Regions from separate parts of the Homo sapiens genome. Here all the other regions are linked to region 2. Evidence: promoter capture Hi-C in 16 types of primary human blood cells and fetal thymus (Javierre and others, 2016). All regions are on one chromosome and are shown on one strand. The core of a region is centred on a gene start or on the middle of the fragment in contact, and the rest is flanking DNA. Distances in the headings are between cores, read along the strand shown. Region 1 has its middle 120 kb from the start of LINC02550. Region 2 holds the start of ARHGAP20 (Rho GTPase activating protein 20). Region 3 has its middle 22 kb from the start of LINC02550. Region 4 has its middle 60 kb from the start of LINC02550.

Region 1 (2,994 bases), core at 382-2,881, 260 kb before region 2:
CATTCTCCTGCCTCAGCCTCCCGAGTAGCTGGGACTACAGGCGCCCGCCACCGCGCCCGGCTAATTTTTTGTATTTTTAGTAGAGACGGGGTTTCACCTTGTTAGCCAGGATGGTCTCGATCTCCTGACCTCATGATCCACCCGCCTCGGCCTCCCAAAGTGCTGGGATTACAGGCATGAGCCACCGCGCCCGGCCGACTTTCTACTTTTCCATTTTTCCGAGTTTATTTTCACTCTCTCCAACTATCCCCAACTTCACTTAACTTTGTTCTCTTAATTGAGGTAACTGATTAAATGTGGTTAAATTGTATGCCTTTGTAAGACTTGTAATATCAACTCTTGCATAAATAAGGAGGCATGAGTTCTGGGAGCATGAGTCCCAGAACATGCTTTGGGAGATGGTTTATGGTGAGCCAGTTCAGAAGGCAGAGAGCAGTGTAGGCTGGCCTGGACAGGACTTTGTGTGCAAGGTAGGGAAATGTTGAGTCCTGAGAGGCCGTAACAGGAAGCCAGGCTCTAGACTAAGTTCTTTCCCCAACTGCCTTTGTGACCTTTGGCAGATCTCTTCTCTGCTCTTCTTAGCAGCAGCAGGAAGGGGCTAAAATAAATCATTTCCAAATGGATCCTTCCAGCTCTTGTATTGTGTGTGCCCTCTGATTCAGATAGTAGTGGATTAGCAGAACAAAGCAGCACCTTTTTGATGGAGCCATATTAAAGTAGCGTATCAAATTATCAAAACACTGCTATTTATTACTTAGTGATGTCTACAAAAGAAATCCCTGACATATCCTCTATGCTATGAGTAAGCCCTGCCCTGTCTCTCATCCTGTGAGCCCCATCATTTTGGGGCCTTGGCACCAAAATGTCAATATCAAAATAGTATGAGCCCTTTGGAAAATGCCAAGGCTTATAGTTCTATAGAACTGGGTTTGGATGGCAGGCTCAGTTGTTTACTTATCACTTGGCCATGTGACCTTGGGAATAAAGGATTTCAGCCTCTATTTCCTTATCTGTAAAACTAAATTATAATATGAACTCTGAAGATGTTGTTAGATTTAAAAATGAAATGTATAAAGCGCCAATGTGTGCCTCATCTTATAAGGAAAGGAAGTAAAGCTTAAAGCAGTCTAATACTCTCAAAATAATTTCCTAAAATAGAAAATAAGCTGTGTTTCACTAAAAAGATTTTACAACATGTTTTACATGTTGGGAGAATCTTGAGTTTCAGATGGGCTAATGGCCCAAATGGACTGGGAAGAGATCAAGGGCTCAGGTGGGAAGGAAAAGCGGAGATTAGATATTCAGACAGTCTGGACATGTACTGTATCACTTACCAGATATACAAAGAGCAGGGAATGTTTATGAAAAACAAGCCCCCATGTCTCTCATACTCCTATCCCTAGACCAGAGCCCTCGGTTCTGAGTCAGAGCTGAATATCAGCATTTAGCAGTGCTATTGCTCAACAGAGACAGGCACTACCGTGATGCAGCAAAATTACTCTCTGAGCTCTGTGGCATCTTGGCCTTGTGTGGCTGAGAGAAGTCTCAGGAAGTCTTATTTGTTGTTCTAAGTAGTAATCAAATTGGCTAAAAGGCCCAAAGGTGAAGTATATGTTGTTCCAACAGGAAGTTTTGGGACACTTGGTAAACTTTTTGAGGAATAAGATAATCTTGCAAAATTGGGCTGTCTGGTTACTGATTCCCAAGGCAGAACAAAGAAAGAGAGTGCTGGGATATGTATGTATGTTGTAGACAGGGTGGATGAAAACTGGCTGGATGATGATGATGGTAATGGTGATAATGATGGTGATGGTGATGATGGTGATAATGATAATTTTTGCAGAATCACAAGGGGAAAGAATGCATTTAAGTTCTAGAAAATTGTCTCAGTTTCCTTGCTACTATTTGATATAGTTCTTTACTCTCAGGAGAAAGTTTTGCCTAGGCAATTATCTCACTTTGAGTTTTCGAAGTGAAAATTGAATTGGGAAAAGTGCCATGGCTCACAGAGGATGGATCAGCCAACTCTGCTGTGACAGTTATTTAAAAATCTTCATAGAAGAGGGAATACTTCAACTGGTTCCTTAAAAATGAAGGTAATTTAGGAAGTAAAGAGGGGAGAGATTTTATTTTGTGCAAAGCTTGTAAAAAAAGGCATTGAATCATAAATTGAAATGGAATAGAGTCATAGGCCTAATCTGAACTGGAATTTCACAAGAAGACAATGAAGGCAGGAAATTAAGATATGAGATAGAGTGAAAGTAGACAGGTAAGTCTAGAAAGGCACTTAGATGCCAGCTGTGATGCCCAGCTGGAGAGTTTGGATTTTTATCTGTAAAATCTAGGATGGCCAAGAAGAAGTGTGTTTGCATTTTGTTTGTTTTACTTTATTAACCTGGGATAGGACCTAGTGACTTTGTTTTTAAAATATAACTTTGATGGAAGAAAGATGTTTAATCAATTGCACTGGGGACTAGTGGTCCGAAGACCATTTTGTAAGCTATTGCATCCCTTAAAGTTAACAGCCTGGTCCTAAAAGAAGAGAGAAGCAACGGAGTCAGAGAAAAGGGGCTAGAGTTCAGTCTTATAGTGTACACTAGATGACAGATCAGACCTAAGGATTTGGAATAAAATAGAGGGAGAATCTGTTGATGGCACCCAAGCTTCTCCTTTTGAAGGCAGAATACATGGTGACACCATGAACAGATGCAAAAACTAACCTCATTTTTTTCTGCATAAGTATTCTATTTACATGCTTTTGCTTACACAAGCAGAAGAGACTTATATACCTATTTTTTTTAAATGTGGGCCAAGATGTTTTGCTTCAAGAGGATAAGATAAGATCTGGTTCCAGCCTGCTCATCACATGTGCCACAGGCCACTAGCTGCTTATCAAAATTCATGGCCTCCTCCACTTCCTGGGCACACAACTAGACTGCATGTTCTGACTTCTGTTACAGTAAGGAGTGGCCCTGTGGTTGAGTTCCAGCCACC
Region 2 (3,005 bases), core at 27-2,526:
AAGCCTACTTTAAACAGTGTGAGGTGGACAAGGCTTAAAACGGGCTGGAACATTTTCCCCCTATTATTTCCACAATAAACCATTCCTGGGCATGGTGGTGATGTGTGCGCGCGCGAGTGTGTGTTGGACAGCATCCCTTCCTTGGAACAGAGCCGGCCAGAGCCCTATTCTTCTACAACCTGTCCTAATAACAGCCTAACCTGGCAGGAACCTCGATTTTTTTCTTCTTACCACAAAAGCAAACCAAACCCCTTCCACAACCTAATATCATAGCGTGGTGTCCTTCCTCACTAATCCGCCACTGCTTCTCTAGTCCTGACTCCAAGGGAAGAATGCCATCTACCGAATCATCCGTACCAGTCAACCAGCCCCGCAAAGTGCAGCAACACTCAGCTCAACGCGGGTCAGCTCCAAATCCTCTCCCTCTGATTATTCTTTGGCCTTTAAAATATTTTTGCCTCTATTTGGGCTGACAGGAAGTTATGCTCTCGGCGCAGATATCTGATAAACACTTCCACATATTGTAGCCTTCTCAATAGCTTAGCCAAATTTCGGCGTCCTCGCTCTGTCTGCATTTTCCTTCATTGCTCTTTCACGTTTGGAATGCCCCCGTCTCTGCAGCCTGCAGACAGCGGAAACCGCGGGTGCAAATGTGCAGGGGCCGCTGACATGACCGGCTGCAGAAGCCCACTCAGGGTTACCCGAACAGGCTAGCGTTCGGGATTGCACAAGAGGTCAGGCGATGCTGTGGGCTTCCAAATTTGTACAGCTGCGACACTCTGCGACGTGCCACCCTATCCCCAGTGGGGTGGGGTGGGGGATTCCCTCCGCAGTCCGCTGAAAGCGAGGCAGGAATCACTGCAACTCCTCTGCTCAGGCTGAGGTCGCCACCGCTCCGCGGATGCACGCGCTGCAGGGGCGCCTTCCGCCGCGGGCACGGCGCGGGAAGGGATGGGGTCTGGTGGGAGTGGGCAGGTGGCGGGAGAGGCGCGTGTCCGTGCACTAGAGGCCCCCGTGCGTGACACAGGCCGATGAGCTCCTGCGGGCTGCACCCACGCGGAGTCACAGACCGAAAAGGTCAGCCGGTGGCCGGTGTGCTAACATATATAGAGAGACGCCCGCCAGGCGCGCCGCAGGCTGGGACGAGGCTAGGAGGGCCCAGGCTGGAGGAGGGCTGAGGAGGGCTGCGGGGGCGGGCCCCGGCGCAGGGCGCCCGGAGCGGAGGGGGCGGGCCCGAGGCGGGGCGGGCCGCGGCGCTGACGGGCTGTCGCCGCTGCACTCGCCTCCAGCCCGCGGTGTCGAGCGCAGGCGGAGGTACATGGCCCCGACGGGAGGCGCGCGGCGAGCACCCGGAGCTCGGCTCCCTGCCTGAGCACGGCAGCCGCGCCTCCGCCCGCGCGTCCTCGCCCCTCCGGCCGGCAGCCCGCGGACATGATCGTGTAGCCTCCTCCTGGGCTGGGATTTGTTTGAAGATTTTCTTCATGGAAGCGATGTCCCCCCAGCAGGAGACTCTAGGGGGACAGCCGGGGCGCTCCTCTTCCCTGACAGGAGTGTCTCGGCTCGCGGGAGGCAGCTGCACCAAGAAGGTGAGGACGCTGAGCGGGGGCCCGTGCCCTCCGCCGCCGCAGCCCCCACTGCCGGCGCGCGCCCTCCGCGCCCGCCACAGCAGCGCGCTAGGCGGACGCCGCGGGAATTTGACGCTCGAGGCTCGCGGCCCCTAATGAGAGTCCCAGAACACTTCCCGCCCTTGACGGCCAGCGGCAGCGCCGCCGCCTCCCGCAGAGCGCCCGCTTCTCCGTTTCTAGAGCCTTAGTCTCTCCTCGAGCGACCTCGCAGCCTCCCTCCCGTCTCCATCCGCCGCCGGTTCTGCAGCCCGGCTCCTCCCTCAGTCTAGGCGCGCGGGCTGTAGTGGGCGATCGCCTTTCCCCGACCCCTCGCCGTGCCCCTGGGCCTCCCGAAGTGGCCTGGGCGAGCACTGACTGCCCTTTGGCGGTGTCAGCCCCAAAGTCAGGGCCGGCGATGTCTGCCCGGGAGCGGCAGCCGGCGCTGAAGAAGGTAGGCAGCGGGGCTGCGGCGCTGGTGGGCTCGGCCCCCTCACCTGCCCGCCGAGGCGCGGCTGCTCCATAGCAGTTTTCGGGGGGCAGATATGGGGAGTACTGCCCCCCACACCAGGGTCCTGGATGATTCCGGGTCTCCCAGGTGGGGGTCACAGTTTGAGGGGCGACTGTGGATGATAACGCTCGACACTACGGGGACATGTAGGTTCGGCTGGGCCTAGAACCGAGCAGGGTGGGGGCGGGTGGGCTGTGGTTGGGGGTCCTGAGGGCTGAGGTGGGGGACCTTCTCCCTGCACTGGTCCCTGGCCCCTGGGACTCTGGCCGGGCTGGATAGGGATCCGGGTGTCGGTGTGGGCGTGGGGGCAGCGCGTGTTCCCTGTCAAAGCTGGGAGAGGGATGCAGGTGACAACTTGTAGCGTTCCATTCCGATAAACACGGCCGCTGTGCTGCGGGAGGATTCCGATCCGGGTCAGGTTTCGCTGGAACGGTTCCCTGAGCAAGTGCACGTGGGCCGCGGGCTGCCGGCCTCTGCCGTTTCGCTCCCTGAGGAATTGATTTGGGTGTTTCTAGCCCTGTCTGCCTGTCCCCCGCCTCCCCACCCCCGCTTCCAGCATAAGACTTTCCGATATTTTGCCTTTTTTTTTTTTTTTGCCTTGTCTTAGTGGTGCCCTTCCAGCTTTTCTGGAAACAAGTTGCGATTAGAGGCATCTTCTAGCTTTTCCTTAAGAAATATCTTAAGGGATTGCATTTGTTTCATTAGAGACTTAAAGGGGTTACGCAGGTTCCCTGCTTGTCTTGATTTTACTGCCTTTCATAAATCTTCCCACCAGGATCTTAGGTTGGCTAGAGGTCAGTTGAAGAGAGGTGATCGGTGTGCCGAGTATAGAAATGTGTGGGAGTTCCCAAGGACCTTGACCGTGTCACGGAGCCATCTAGGGGTGTCCGTGA
Region 3 (3,037 bases), core at 476-2,975, 360 kb before region 2:
GTGTTAACCATCAAACGCACTCAGCAGCAAAGTTTGAGAGTGGGAAACCCAGAATGAAGACTGATCTTGTCTATAAATCCACCAGGAAATGCTAAGTGCTACATTTCAGAATGGTTGACTTAGTAACTTAGAAAAATATTTTATGATAGATGTAAAATTAGATAAGGAGATTAAAAACAAGAACGTTTTTTAAAAAAACTCATTGATCTATTTATTCACATTTGTATTCAATAGTGTTTGAGGATCTAGTGCCCACCATGAAAAGTATGTGTGCTGAAGACATTAAGGAAATATCAGCTCTCATCTCTGTTCTCCCTTCAAGCCATCATTAAAGGAGAAGGATAGAACTAATATTTGTTTATTTAAAATTAATAAAAATGTAAATATTGAGTTACTTTCACTTTTTTTCATAACTATGGTAAATACAGATCTTAGTAAATAGAAATAGTCTTTAAAATTTCAAATGTATGGCCGAGCACAGTGGCTCATGCCTGTAATCCCAGCACTTTGGGAGGCCGAGGCTGGCGGACCATGAGGTCAGGAGATCGAGACCATCCTGGCTAACATGGTGAAACCCCATCTCTACTAAAAAAAATACAAAAAATTAGCTGGGCATGGTGGCACACGCCTGTAGTCTCAGTTACTTGGGAGGCTGAGGTAGGAGAATTGCTTGAACCCAGGAGGCCGAGGTTGCAGTGAGACAAGATCGCGCCACTGCACTCCAGCCTGGTGACAAAGCGAGACTCTGTCTCAAAAAAAAAAAAAAAAATTCAAATGTATCTAGTTGATGAACTGCCCATGCAAAATGGCTATTACTGCCTATTTTAGTAGACTGTAATCAAACCAAAATACATTACCTATAAACTAATAAACTAAATAATTTATTAAACTAATAAACTAAAATAATGTATTCATAAGATCCTAATTTATGTCTGATTAATCAAACCAAAATACCGTATATTACCTATAAACTAATAGGTAGACTGATTAATCAAACCAAAATACAACACATTACCTATAAACTAATAAATAATTTATTCTTAAGATTAATAAACTAATTTATTCATAAGATCCTAATTTATAAGTCATCTTCACTCAGAAATACAGCCCTAAGATTTATACTTCTACCAAGCTTCAGTTTGAATAGATGTACAACATTTAAACAAAAGCAGTTTAACTAAAAAGGGAAACATTCAAAATGACCTAGAAAATGGAAACTTTTCCTCTTTTTAGATCTCTGTAAGAAGGCTCACTTGAAGGTGAAATCAGCACCACCGTTTTTCACTCTTTCTTTCCAAAGCAGTGGTGGGGAGAACATTCATTGGACAAGGATGACAAGGACACCTCCTTGAGGGGTAGATGCATTCCATTACAGTGCAACTGGAATAGAATGGTTCAAATATCCCCTGGGTGGAAGGTAATTTGAAGGGGCTTTATATGGGTTTATTGGAGTAGAGGGAGGAACAGAAGATTTCTCTCTTGAACTTGGCCCATAAATCCATTTCCAATATGGGACACCTGCCTGGATACTGAGACAAAAGAAGGAAGCCTGGGCTAGCTGCTCCACTTTCAGGTGGGAGAAAAGGACCTGAGGACATAAACTTCCAAGAGCATGTCAATATCCTTTCTACTGATCTTCAATTTTGAGAATGTTGGAGCTTATTCTCTATCAAAGGAAAGTGTATTAAAACTTTTGAGTTAGGCTGGTCTAGAGAGATAACTGACATTGTGAGCAATAAGGTAAACTCTATCTTAGCCATCTAGAGGAAAAATTGGCTTAGGATTATGAAGCGATTATCATCCTGGGATCTGGATCCTATGGAGGGGACACCTGGTCCACACTCAGTGCTTTGGATCCTGGATTCCTGGGCCATTTAAGTTGAACATGGCTTCTGCCATTGGTGATCTAATAATCCAAAAGATTCCCTGGTCTTCACAAGCTGCCCAAATGATGTAACTGGATTACCAAAACTTCAAATACCCTTCCTGAAAGCTCAGATGTAACATCTGCTTCAGTTAATTTTGGTCCAGTGTGTGCACCTTCTTCTCCCAGGTTGTTGGGCTCTGAATTACTAACCACATATTTTGAGTTTTGTTTTCAACAGCAATAGTCTGGTTTTTCAAAGGACATGTGAGGTCTCTTCATTCCTTCCCCTAGCATTGTCTCATTTCAATATCCAGGTACTCAGGGGTATGGATCATGCTCTCATCTGCAGGGACATTTCTCTTTTATCTTTAGATTGTCTTTTCCTTCTACCTGTGAGGTTTTATTTTCATTTCTGTGTTAGGGTTCAGTCATTATTTTAAATTTAAGCTTTCTAATCTTTCAATCTTTGCATAATTTGTTTCCCAAGATGCATTCTTCCTCTAGAGAGTTTTGATATAATCCTTAAGTTTTTTTTTTTTTTTTTGGTCTTGTTCATCAAATGCAATATATATTTGGTTACTTTCTTCTTCAAGGGTTTATAAGGAAAGATTTAGCTTGGGAATATGAATCAGTTTCTTCAGAGCCCTTTTTTGAATGATCATTTTAATGATCTCCCATTGGACTCTCTCTTTCTGTTCAGCTCCCAGTGACCATTATCTATGCTAGATCTACTTTCTTTAGTACGCATCCAGTTAGGGACTTGATCTGACATTTTTCTTAAGGAGAATATTTTGCACACTTTCTTTAGAATGTTTAACTATTTTTGTTTGTGCATTTCATTCATTCTTTTTTTCCTACTTCAGCTTCTTGAAAAATAGTTTAGTTTTTCTAAACGTGAGAAATATCATATCTTTCTTCGAGGCTGTGTTGTTCTTCACTCTTGTCGTGTAACTTTAAAGCTGATTCTGGGCCGGGCGCGGTGGCTCACGCCTGTAATCCCAGCACTTTGGGAGGCCAAGGCGGGCGGATCACGAAGTCAGGAGATCAAGACCATCCTGGCTAACATGGTGAAACCTTGTCTCTACTAAAAATACAAAACAAAACAAAACTAGCTGGGCATGGTGGCAGGCGCCTGTAGTCCCAGCTACTAAGGAGGCTGAGGCAGGAGAA
Region 4 (3,201 bases), core at 431-2,930, 320 kb before region 2:
TTTTGGGGCTTTGGATGCTGTAATTGTCTGTTTACCGTTATTGCTGGGCATGGAATACTGGGCATGGATTCACCATAAAGAGTCTCTTGAGCTCTCTGCCTCCATTGTGTTGTAGAACCCTAGCTTCTCAAGGTAACCAGAGTTGCATATGCTCACCTCAATACTCTTTACTTTGCATATTGGTCCACCAGTATGAGGATCCCAAAGAGAACAGGTAGGGGCCATAACTTGGGATCTTTAAACATCTCTTAGTGGAAAGGTCCCTTCCCATCTCACCCCCCATCCCAACAACCAGGACATCTAGTCTAGCAGAATCCAAGTGTGTGGATATAGGAAGCAAAAATCCCATAAGTAGGTCTGTGGCAGTGATGATAAGAAGGACTAATCTTATATTCATCTCTTGATTTTGTGACATGTGCATTGCAGCTACTGGGTACTCAGCACCATACACAAACTAGTATGCATATACGTCATCTTGAAGAAGAGCACTCAAACACTGCCAGTAGCCATCCTACAGCCAATGTCTTAGCTAAGTCTTTAATAGGCTATTTCACTTTTCTAGGCTAGCTGTGGACTAGTTGTGGACTGGTTGCATTCCTAGTCTCAGGTATTTCTTTATAGCAATGCAAGAATGGCCTAACACAAGACCCATATTTCTATGTCACCTACCTCTGTTCACCTCACACCTATGTCCTCACAGGGGGTTCTCTATGACCAACTCCCCCAAAAATATTGGGGCTTACTATATAGGTGCTAGCCCAAAGTGAACTGCTACTGCCATTTAGCTGGACTCAGAGGTGACCCACATAGGCAGTACCAGAGGGAAATCCTGTCAATGGGCATAGTTGCAAGCAGTGAATTTGATCATTTACTTTGTGTTGAGAGACAAGTGGCCTGAGGTTGGGATGAACACAGAAAATGACGTTTTTGGGTGATTAGAGTCTGTAAGAAGCAAGACTAAAACATAAAAGACATGGAATTCTGGGGGTGAGACATGTGGATGGGCAATGGGAGGGAGAACAAATCAGGCATGTCTCTGTTGCCTCACATTAATGCCCACCAGAGAAGAGGCACTCAACAACCAGGCAAAGAGGTCAACTTGTCACATGGATGTCAGCCAGGCTCTCTCCTCAGCCACCCTAGTGCTTGAAAAATGAGCCATTTATGGATGGAGGCTATGCCCAACAGCATAGACTCCCTCTTACCAAGGCTGGTCTAGCCACTGCCACAGCTGAGTGCCCAAACTGTTAGCAGGAGACACTCTACTAAACCCTTAACGTGGCATCATCACATGAGGAAACCAGTCAGCCACTGGGAGCAGGTTGATTACATCATAGCCCTTTTACCCTACAGAGGGGGAGTAATTACTCCTTATGGAACTGATAATACCTACTCTGGATATGGGTTCACACTGCCTGCCCTCCATACCTCTCCCAGCACTACACCTAAGGACTTGCAGGATGCCTAACTTACCAGCATGGGATCTTGCATAACATTGCTTCAGGACCAATGGACCAAATTTTTGGCAAAGAGGGTGCAGCAATGGGTGTGTGATCATAGGATACTTCTTTACCATGAACCACATCACCATTAAAACAGAATGGTATGGGCATAAGGACAGACATATAAACCAATGGAACAGACTTGTGAGCCCAGAAATAAAATCATCAATATTCAGTAAACAGATCTTCAACACGGGTTTCAAGAATACACAGTGAGGAAAGAACAGTTTCTTCAACAAATGATCTGAGGGACACTGTATATACACATGCAAAAGAATAAAATTGTGGCCTTATTTTACACTATACACAAATGTCAACTCAAAATCGATTGAAAACTTAAAGGTAAGACCTGAAACTAGATTGGTGATTACCAGGGGTAACTTATATAGAAAAGAGGTTTAATTAGCTCATGGCTCTGCAGGCTATAAAGGAAACATGGCACCGGCATCTGCTCAGTTTCTGGGATGGCTTCAGGGAACTTTTACTCATGGAGGAAGGTGAAGCAAGAGTACACATGGCACATGGTGAGAGAGGGAGCAAGGAGGTTGGTGTTGGGGAGATGCCATATGCTTTCAAACCACCAGATCTCATGAGAACTCACTCAGTATTGCAAGGACAGCACCAAACTGGAAGGAATCTACCCCATGACCCAAACACCTCCCACCAGGCCCCACCTCCAACACTGGGGATTACCTTTCAACCTGAGATTTGAGGAGGGACAAATATCTAAACTGTACCAGGTCTAATTGCTCGAAATTCTTAATTTGTGCTTCTTGGACTGCTGTTATGCTTTGGCTGTGTCCCCACCCAAATCTCATCTTGAATTGTAGTTCCTATAATCCCCATGTGTTGTGGGAGAGGCCCAGTGGGAGGGGGTAATTGAATAATGGGGGCAGTTATCTCCATGTTGTTTTCATGATAGTGAGTGAGTTCTCACAAGATCTGATGGTTTTATAAGGAGATTTCCCCACCTTTTGCTCTGTACTTCTCTCTCCTGCTGCCAGGTGAAGAAGGACGTGTTTGTTTCCCATTCCACCATGATTGTAAGTTTCCTGAGGCCTCCCCAGCCATGCTGAACTGAGTTCATTAAATCTCTTTGCTTTATAAATTACCCAGTCTCAGGTATGTTTTTATTAGCAGCATGAGAACAGACTAATACAACTGCCCAGGCCCCATCCTGAGTTGATCATTTCCATTGGGTATGATATATTACTACTGTCTGCACTCACCCTTCTGACATGGTGGATCTGATAATGCCCACATAATGATGTGTAATTCCAAATACACTAGGGCCCTGTAGCCTGGCAGACTCTGCTACTTCTCTGACAGAGAAGGATGGCCTGGTTCTACACACTGAGGGTTCTGGGATTCTTCTAGTTGTGACAGAGTCTAAAACCAGAGTCGTATGCACCACAGTATCTTTAGCATTGTCAGATCTGCTGGCTCATGGTCCCAAATCATAAGTTTACAACTCCATGAATTTTCACAAGCAAACACAGCCATGAAACAAGCACCAATATCAAGAAATAAAACATCATCAGTCAGGGAGTGTCTTACATGAGGAAACTAGGCAACAATGTTCTCAGTGGAAGTGTTAGAACAATAATAGAAAATCTCTCTATATGGCTCTTTTTACATTGACTGAATAAATGCCAAGAATGTAGTACTCCATTATGAAGCTATTTTATGGTGAGCAAAC

What was found. Contacts are between HindIII fragments. The CHiCAGO score rates a contact against its expected background, and 5 or more counts as called.
Region 1: a contact is called between a fragment that was not itself captured here and the fragment with the promoter of ARHGAP20 in region 2, in 1 of 17 cell types (M2 macrophages). The highest score is 6.7, in M2 macrophages.
Region 3: a contact is called between a fragment that was not itself captured here and the fragment with the promoter of ARHGAP20 in region 2, in 2 of 17 cell types (M1 macrophages and M0 macrophages). The highest score is 6.8, in M1 macrophages.
Region 4: a contact is called between a fragment that was not itself captured here and the fragment with the promoter of ARHGAP20 in region 2, in 1 of 17 cell types (M2 macrophages). The highest score is 5.1, in M2 macrophages.

Annotation. Positions count from the first base shown.
Region 1 is chr11:110,971,297-110,974,290 of GRCh38, reverse strand. No RefSeq gene overlaps it. Among named protein-coding and RNA genes, the nearest start is that of LINC02550, 120 kb to the left of the region's middle. RefSeq lists an enhancer at 2,673-2,842. The HindIII fragment of the contact is 1,025 bases long and covers 1,119-2,143 here.
Region 2 is chr11:110,710,708-110,713,712 of GRCh38, reverse strand. ARHGAP20 (Rho GTPase activating protein 20) reads left to right here and starts at 1,276. Exons shown (of 15, transcript NM_001384657.1): 1 at 1,276-1,586. The coding sequence starts at 1,482. RefSeq lists silencers at 1,165-1,324, 1,345-1,404 and enhancers at 928-1,429, 2,412-3,005. The HindIII fragment of the contact is 6,153 bases long and covers 1-3,005 here.
Region 3 is chr11:111,073,500-111,076,536 of GRCh38, reverse strand. No RefSeq gene overlaps it. Among named protein-coding and RNA genes, the nearest start is that of LINC02550, 22 kb to the left of the region's middle. The HindIII fragment of the contact is 1,182 bases long and covers 1,135-2,316 here.
Region 4 is chr11:111,035,608-111,038,808 of GRCh38, reverse strand. No RefSeq gene overlaps it. Among named protein-coding and RNA genes, the nearest start is that of LINC02550, 60 kb to the left of the region's middle. The HindIII fragment of the contact is 4,083 bases long and covers 1-3,201 here.